2 separate regions of the Homo sapiens genome follow, and region 2 is linked to region 1. The links are contacts of gene promoters, found by promoter capture Hi-C in human tissues and cell types (Jung and others, 2019). All regions are on one chromosome and are shown on one strand. Each heading gives the region's core, a stretch centred on a gene start or on the middle of the fragment in contact. The rest is flanking DNA. Distances are from core to core; before and after follow the strand shown. Region 1 holds the start of UBAP2 (ubiquitin associated protein 2). Region 2 overlaps UBAP2 (ubiquitin associated protein 2).

Region 1 (4,322 bases), core at 1,250-3,749:
CCAAGTAGCTGGGATTACAGGCGCCCGCCACCACGCCCGGCTAATTTTTTGTATTTTTTTAGTAAAGACAGGGTTTCACCATGTTGGCCAGGCTGGTCACAAACTCCTGACCTCAGGTGATCCACCCACCTTGGCCTCCCAAAGTGCTGGGATTACATGCGTGAGCCATCACGCCCGGCCCAGTTCTGTTTGTTAAAGGCACAGTTTAAGCATTCTTTGTTTTTTTTTTTGTTTGAGACAGAGTCTTGCTCTGTCGAACAGCCTGGAGTGCAGTGGTGCTATCTTGGCTCACTGCAACCTCCACCTCCTGTGTTCAAGTGATTCTCCTACCTCAGCCTCCTGAGTAGCTGGGATTACAGGCGTGTGCCACCACGCCAGGCTATTTTTTTTTTTTTTTTTTGAGACGGAGTCTTGCTCTGTCGCTCAGGCTGGAGTGCAGTGGCGCGATCTCGACCCACTGCAAACTCCGCACGCCATTCTCCTGCCTCAGCCTCCCGAGTAGCTGGGACTACAGGCGCCCGCCACCACGCCCGGCTAATTTTTTTGTATTTTTAGTAGAGACTGGGTTTCACCGTGTTAGCCAGGATGGTCTCGATCTCCTGACCTCGTGATCGGCCCGCCTTGGCCTCCCAAAGTGTTGGGATTACAGGCGTGAGCCACCGCGCCCGGACATTTTTTTGTATTTTTAACAGAGACGGGGTTTCACCGTGTTGGTCAGGCTGGTCTCAAACTCCGTATCTTGTGATCCGCCCTCCTCCGGCTCCCAAAGTGCTGAGATTACAGGTGTGAGCCACCACGCCCGGCAGCATTCTTTAATTCAGATGAATAACAAAGGCTTTATTTGAACTAGATAGGGCTGTTTAAGATGTCAATTGTTTTACTTAATAACTAGCAAATTAGTAATTAGCATAGTGCCCTGTACAAAGTTCAGTATAAGCTAATTTCCCCTTTCTACCTTACTTAGACCTTTTGGGCCCGATGGGTAGAGTGTGAAAATGATTACTGATACTTACTGAGGGTTTATTATGTGTCAAGCAGGCATTTTACATAATCTCATTTAATTTTCACAAGCCGGTGAAGTGTTATTACAGAGGAAAGCTCCAATTGAGATAAGGCATGCCGGGACTGCAAAGTCCTTGTATGTAACTAGCTTGGGATAAAACAGGCCAGTAAGTAGACCTTGAGAGCTTGTTTAGAGGACCTTGAGAGCTTGTTAACACGGGCGTGCAGCTACTCCTATATCCTTGACTTGTCCTCTTCTATGGGGGATGCTCCTCCTTTTCGACCGAATATGCAGCTTCGGGAGGGACGCACATGGAGAGGTGCGGGAGGAAGGGGCCACCCGCCTAGACAGCCAGATCAGCCGAATCAGCCCTGGCGATCTATGGGGTGACAAGATAGCCAGAACGCCCTCACATCCAAACAGGCCAGTAAATGGAAAATACTTTAAAACACCATGCTACAATTATAAACCATCATCTTATTTATTCGTAATTCTTGGAGTTGACAACAGGTCAGATCCTATTGAGAGGAGGTCATTAATTTTCTAAAGACAGAAAACCTGGGTCTCTTCGGTCAACAAACAACTCTAAGGTTCTTTTTTTAAATCCTTAAATAGGGAAAATCCTGGACTCAAGGAGTTGATTATATGATATAACAGAAATAAACGGCTGACTTGGAGTAGGCGTTCAGTAGATTCTAGTCTTTTCACCCAGAAGGGGCTTGGGAGGGCAAAAGTAAAACCGCACTGAAAAAGACTAAAAGTGGGCGCACCTTCCGCCTTGCCGAGGCTCTCGCTGCTAGCCGTTGGCGTTTTCCCGCGCAGGGGGCAGGGCGCAGAGCGAGCCCAGGAACGTGGGAGCGGAACCCCACCCCCCGCCAGGACTACACCTCCCAGCAGGCACCACGCTCCGCCACATGGCGGGCGGCATCCAATGGTATTAGTCCTTCAAGCCAGCTTAGTCCGCTTTCCGTCCCGGCCTTCCCTCGGCTCTAAGGTCTCTAGGGGGTTCGTCTAGAAGCCCGCTGGAGAAAGGCTGCGGTAGGGGTCGCCTTGGCTGTGCAGCATGTTGGGAGTCGTGGTCCCCTCGTGCAACATTTGGGAGGCCAGGCTTGCCCTGAGTGGTTGGACCACATCACGTGATGAGCACAGGGCGGCCACAGGGGAGTAACCTGTGGTGCTTTGTGAGGTCATCACGGCGCGACGACGAGCTGCAGTTGTGGGCACCTTGTATGCGGTGGGTAATACTCTCCTGATGACTCCGAGTACAATACATATTATCAAGTCTCCCTTATTTGTTCCTTTCTGTGGTCCCCACCTCCACGCGGTTGGCTTCGCGGGGTTGGGGTGGAGGTGGTGGCTGGAAGAGGCCGCGCGCCGCCTAGGCTGACTCTGAAGCCGCGCACGAGCGACGTGTTGTGGCTCCTCCTTCGCCCGTGACGCGAGGTCACGTGACGGGTTGGGCAGCCTGTGCCGCCGCCGCCGCTTTGTAAGAGGCACATTGGCAGGTAACGAGCGGCGGCGGCGGCAGCGGGTCTTGGGTCCTCCGAGAGCAGCAGCGGTAATTGCCATCCTCTCCCTCTCCTTCCCTCTTCCAGGGCCCTGAGCGCTGCAGCGTGTGCTTTCTAATTCTGGGTTCAGCTCGTCTGAAACCCCACCGCCTGCAGACTGCCCCGGCGCCCACCCGTGAGGACCGGGCCGAGCTTCACTCGCCAGGTCCACGGTCCCTCTACGTCCAGGCCCGGGCTCCCTCCTTCCTCTTCCCCTCACGTTGCCCTGTGCTTCTTCCTACTTTCCCCCGTCCAGGTCGGCTGGGCCCCACCCAGCCCCAGGGGTGCCTCCCCTCCCCCCTTTCGGGTTTCTGCCCTGGAGGGTGTGGTTTTCTCTCCCACCTCGGTGCCTGCCAGTAGACTGGAGCTTCCCCGCCACGCTGTCGGTCCCATCTCATCACCTTTCCGCTTTCACGCCCGTAGCTAGTCTTGGGACTGGCCCTGTTATAGCCCCAACTTATGCGCTCTCTAACCTTTCCTGGCTTACCCGGAGTCACAGTTCAGTTCTACTTCTTTTCAATTCTGTAGGGCATTGGTCTCAATTGGGACTCAGTTTTCCTCCACACCCGCCGTTCCTGTAGTCTGGTTATATCACAGTTCATTATTTAATGTAGGTTTTTGAGCGCTTTGTAAACGGCAAAGCTCTCTCTGTTAATAATACATACTCAAAATGTTATTCTTTCATTGGTGCATTACAACTCAGTTGTTTGCCTCTGAATCACTTTCCCACTCGGCTTTTCCACATTTTCCCCTGAGTTTTTAGTCTAATTAGTTGCCCACGCATCTCAACTGTCACCACTCTGGTCTCTAATGCTTGCTCGCTTTAGGGGTTGATCCCATCATTATTACTGTTATTTCCTGTTTGATGTAATCCAGTCATTTACTACCACTTCTATTGGATATTGTTTTTACCTCACATTCAAGGAAGGTATATGGTTTGCCAGTATTTAGGCTTATTGTCTTTCTACAGCACCAGTGTATCCTAACAGTTGAGAGATTTTAAAAAATTACTATTAATTTTAGAGATATGGTCTCCATATGTTGCCCAGGCTGGCCTCCAGCTCCTGGGTTTAAGCGATTCTTTCACCTCAGCCTCCTGAGTATCTGGGATTACAGTGTGCACCACGGTGCTCAGCTAGTTGAGGGTTTTTTCAGGTCTCCATAAGGTATCCAAAGATTATCTTTTATTTGAAGGGCATATAATTTCTTGGGTGAACCCAGTTCTTATATTCCTCTTCCGTTGTGACAGCACTTTTTTCAACAAGGGGTATGCGACTAGTTATTGCATTCCTCACTTTTCACTGTGAATTGTGTATCCGTTTTAGTGCCAGTTTGTGAAAGGTGGAAGGAAGTTGAACATGATACCTAAGCTCTCCCGTATCCTACATTGGTGTGTTCCCCTTTTACCTCAGGAAAGGGAATGTATTCCACTCCCTGGAGATGATAGTTTCCTTCAATACACTCACCTGTGGAGCCCCTTCGCTAGGGTTGTCCTTCCATTGCTTTGAAGGCTTCTCTTATCATTAGGCAGAAGTGATTAGTTTCCCAAACTGCCCTTTTGCTTGCTGCCAGCATACTCCTGATTTTCCTACTTATGGCTAGTTGATACGTGTGACGAGAGATTTTCCCACAGCGCTGATTTCCCCCATTTGCTTCCCTGTTGCCTCTCACCCTCAATAATTATGAAACCTTTCAGAGAAGGAAGGTTTTTGTTGTGATTGAAATATGCCCGAAAGTGGTGGCATGGGAGAGAATGAGGCCATGGGAAAGGG
Region 2 (4,274 bases), core at 1,707-4,206, 55 kb after region 1:
TTGGTCAACTTGGAGGAAGATTGATTTGTAGTTAGATTCTACCAGTGTTAGTGAAAAGACATGCATGGAATGGCCACAAAAAAATAAGTAAACATGTCCTCATTGTAAACTCAAGAGTCTAGAAGAGGCCATCTTCATGTAGAAGGATTATGTAATTCTGTATTTGTATAGAAGAATCTTAATATCAAGTGCCAGTTTTTTGTTTGCCTCTAACCATTTTCTGATATGTTCACTAGCTTATGGAAGTGACAGGGAAAAATCAGGATGAATGCATAGTGGCCCTACATGATTGTAATGGAGATGTGAACAAAGCTATCAATATATTGCTGGAAGGGAATTCAGACACAGTAAGTATTATTAATTGATTTGCATTGTTTACATTTGTCTCCAATTCCGTAGCACATTTTCAACTTCACCTTGTTTGGGGGTAGGGATGGAATGGATTATGGTGCCATTCCATATTTGTTTTAAGTTCCAGAAAGAACGATTACCTGAAAAGACTGTTTTTGTTATGTATGGTTTCTTCATGAAGTCGTAGAATCTGATGACTTGAAAGAGAACTTGGTGATCTACTCCAGCCTTACAGTTTCCAAAAATCTCTGTGCCTGTGTATATTTTCACCACCCCCACCTGAAAAGCATCTCTTGGCTCTGTTGCTTATGTTTCTTCATCTCAGTCCTCACCTCTGATTACTTCTTACATCTCTATTATAACAGAAAACCAGGATTTGCTGGTATATGTATTTGCTTATGTGGAATATTAAGTTTTCTTTTTTTTTTTTAATATTGGGTTAAGTTTGGTGAGCTTGCAGGCTCATGAGCTCAGGCCTTGGATTTTAAGAAGGATACAGCTAAAGCTACACCAGGCACTTGTCAGCCCTAAAATTTTGCTGTGTGTATATATTTATATTTATATATTATAGTTTTTATACATATGTATATATTTATTTATAAATATATATTTATTTAATAATTTTAAATTTTAAATAATTTAATTTTAAATTAAATTAAATTATTTAATAATATATTTAATAATATAAATATATTTATATATTTAATAATATAAATATATATATTTAATAATATAAATATATTTATATATTTAATATATATTATATATAATATTTATAATATTTGTTTAATAATATATAAATATATATACTTTATATATATATTTATATTTAATATATATATTTATATATTTATTTATTTTTTTGAGACAGCCTCACTCTGCCACCCAGGCTGGAGTGCAGTAGTGTGATCTTGACTCACTGCAACCTCCGTCTCCTGGGTTCAAGTGATTCTTTTGCCTCAGCCTCCCAAGTAGCTAGTACTACAGGCATGCGCCACCACGACCAGCTAATTTTTGTATTTTTAGTAGAGGTGGGGTTTCGCCATGTTGGCCAGACTGGTCTCAAACTCCTGACCTCAGGTGATCCACCCGTCTTGGCCTCCCAAAGTGTTGGGATTACAAGTGTCAGCCACCACACCTGACCTGTGTTTATGTTTCTTAAATTGAGGAAACTATTTTAGAGTAGATTAAAAAAAAATGACTCACCTAAAAGAGGATACAAAGATGAACACATCAATAACTACCTTTCCTTGGAAAATTTAAAACAAACAAACTGACCGTGTCAGTGTTCAGATTTAATTGAAGTCTCATTTTAGGGTCATGCTGCATTAGGTACAAGAAATACAAAAATGAACTCTGAGAAACTGAAAGCTAAAATGACTGTGTTTTTAGTTGATGTGAAACAAAGAGAATGAATTCTTTTAAAGTAAAAATTAACTAATGTGGAAAAGATTTCACTGTTTGAGTGTAGCAGTAATTGTTGGTAAAATTCCATGTAAGAGAACACTGGTACACAAGACAAACCATCAAATTTGTGATTTTTTTTTTTTGGGAAAACCATATTATATGATAAATTAAAATTTTGAATAGTTTTTGTTTACTGACCTGGGACTAAGTATCCTGGGTTTTGCAAAATATGGAGGATCTGTTTACCTTATCGCTAATGGGTACAGCAGAGAGTGGCTTTCAGTTATTTTCAAAGTGAACTGAAGAGCCTAACCGCCCTCTTTGTTTAGGGAAAAAAAAAAAAAAGAAAAAATCTTTGGGAATAAACAAAATAACCCAAATTGTTCACTGGAGAGGATCTTTTTGGATCTTTTTATGGTAGAGATAAGTCCAGACACTATTTTTTGTTGCCTTTCCTTTAGCTCCAGCAGATTTAATTCCTTTTCTCTGGTAGTTTGGTGAATTTTTAAGTTTTAAATGTCCAGTTTTCTCTTTCTGTTTTGAGTTTTAACACCCCCTCCTCCTTTGGGACCGAACCTGAAGGAGCTGGTTCTGGGCTATGTATTAGAAAGTAAGACTGACTGGGCACTGCGGCTCATGCCTGTAATCCCAGCACTTTGGAAGGCCTAGGTGGGCAGATCACGAGGTCAGGAGTTTGAGACCAGCCTGGTCAACATGGCGAAACCCCATGTCTACTAAAAATACAAAAAATTAGCCAGGTGTGGTGGTGGGCGCCTGCAATCCCAGCTACTCAGGCGGCTGAGGCAGGAGAATTGCTTGAACCCGGGAAGCAGAGGTTGTAGTGAGCCGAGATCGCGGCATTGCACTCCAGCCCAGGCGACAGTGCGAGACTCGGTCTCAAAAAAAAAAAAAAAAGAAAGCAAAGCTGAACTTTTCATGAAGAACACCTCTTTGGTTACCTCTTGAACGATTTTATAGTGTGGGCTATATCTGACTTCTTGTTTTCTTCAAAGATAAGAAAATAGCAAATGAAGTTCTGAATATAGTTGTGAAAGAATACACTTGTTCAGGGCTGAGTGGGCTGTGGGGGACAGAAGTAGAGGTAAAGTCTTTGTTTTAGTTGTTTGGTGTTTTGGGTTTTTTATTAAGACAGGGTCTCACTCCGTTGCCCAGGCTAGAGTGCAGTGGTGCCATCACGGTTTACTACAGCCTCGACCTCCCGGGCTTATGCCATCCTCCAGCCTGCCGAGTAGCCGGGACCACAGGCGCATGCCACTACGCTTGGCTAATCATTTTTATATTTTGTAGAGTTAGGGGGTCTCTGTGTTTCTATGTTGCTCAGGCTGGAGTCTTTGAAACCCTGGTTTGTTGAGGACCACTCTCTGGTACATCTTGTCTCTCATACTGTTTGCCTCATCTCTTACCTAGTTGCCATCTGCAGCACCTATGGCTAAACAGCTTTGATTATCTTCCCTTGACTGAGATAGAGTTAATTGGAGTAGGGTTGACAGAATATAAACACTGTGATGTTGCTAGGAGCAAGAGCATGAAGGCAAACGATTCTTTTCCTATTATCTAACCTTCCTCTGTGCTGAAACAAAATTATTACTTGGAAAAGGTGTTAAGTGGAATCGTCCATGATGTTTTTAAGGATAAATTTATTTTTTCTTATGTAAGTATATCTGTCACAAAGGAAGATATTGAACATAAGTACTGAACTTTTTGTTTCATCATAATGTTTGGTTGATGTGACAAAATTGTTTTGAAGTATCGGTCTCTTGAATTAATGTACTTAACTCTTTTTAGTAAGTTGTTTGTGTTGGTAGTTTTTGGCAAAGGCAAAGTGGTGGGAGAGTAATTTTTGAACTAGCTGGCTTCGAAGACTGCTGTTCTGATTATTATGTGGTGGCTGGGAGGACCTCTCCTCTTAGAGTTTCTTCAGACCTGTTCTGCAACTAGCAAAATACCGATAACAGAGGTTGCCAGAAATTCTCTTGGAAATCCTCCATAATTACTTGGTTAACTTTTTAAAGTATGCATGTGTGTATACTTTGCAGACTTCAGCAAAATACACAGTAATCTTTTTAGCAGTTACTATGGTATTGTAAAGATTGCTTCTTAAAGGTTCTTTTCCCTATTTGTGCCCCCCCCCCTCCGCCCGATAAGTTGTCTTTGTAGAGCTCATAAACCAAGACTTTGCTTGAGGGGCAGTAGGATGGGGAGGGTATCTTTTTTTTATTTTTATTTTTTTGAGATGGGAGTCTTGCGCTGTCACCCAGGCTGGAGTGCAATGGCATGATCTCAGCTCACTGCAACCTCTGCCTCCCAGGTTCAAGCAGTTCTCCTGCCTCAGCCTTCTGAGTAGCTGGGATTACAGACATGTGCCACCACGCCTGGCTAATTTTTTTTTTTTTTTTTTTTTGAGATGGAGTTTTGCTCTTGTTGACCAGGCTGGAGAGTAATGGCGTGATCTCGGCTCACCACAACCTCCTGCCTCCCGGGTTCAAGCGATTCTT

The links. Contacts are between HindIII fragments. The study calls those that stand out against the background at their distance.
Region 2: a contact is called between a fragment that was not itself captured here and the fragment with the promoter of UBAP2 in region 1, in 1 of the 25 tissues and cell types used here (liver).

The regions. Positions count from the first base shown.
Region 1 is chr9:34,047,064-34,051,385 of GRCh38, reverse strand. It overlaps UBAP2 (ubiquitin associated protein 2), which reads left to right and starts at 2,499. Exons shown (of 29, transcript NM_001370062.2): 1 at 2,499-2,561. It also overlaps the pseudogene RN7SKP114. RefSeq lists enhancers at 1-819, 820-1,676, 1,867-2,396, 1,677-2,532, 2,533-3,389 and silencers at 2,427-2,516, 2,667-2,716. The HindIII fragment of the contact is 41,306 bases long and covers 1-4,322 here.
Region 2 is chr9:33,992,296-33,996,569 of GRCh38, reverse strand. It overlaps UBAP2 (ubiquitin associated protein 2), which reads left to right. Exons shown (of 29, transcript NM_001370062.2): 4 at 237-347. Among named protein-coding and RNA genes, the nearest start is that of SNORD121A, 42 kb to the right of the region's middle. The HindIII fragment of the contact is 5,057 bases long and covers 428-4,274 here.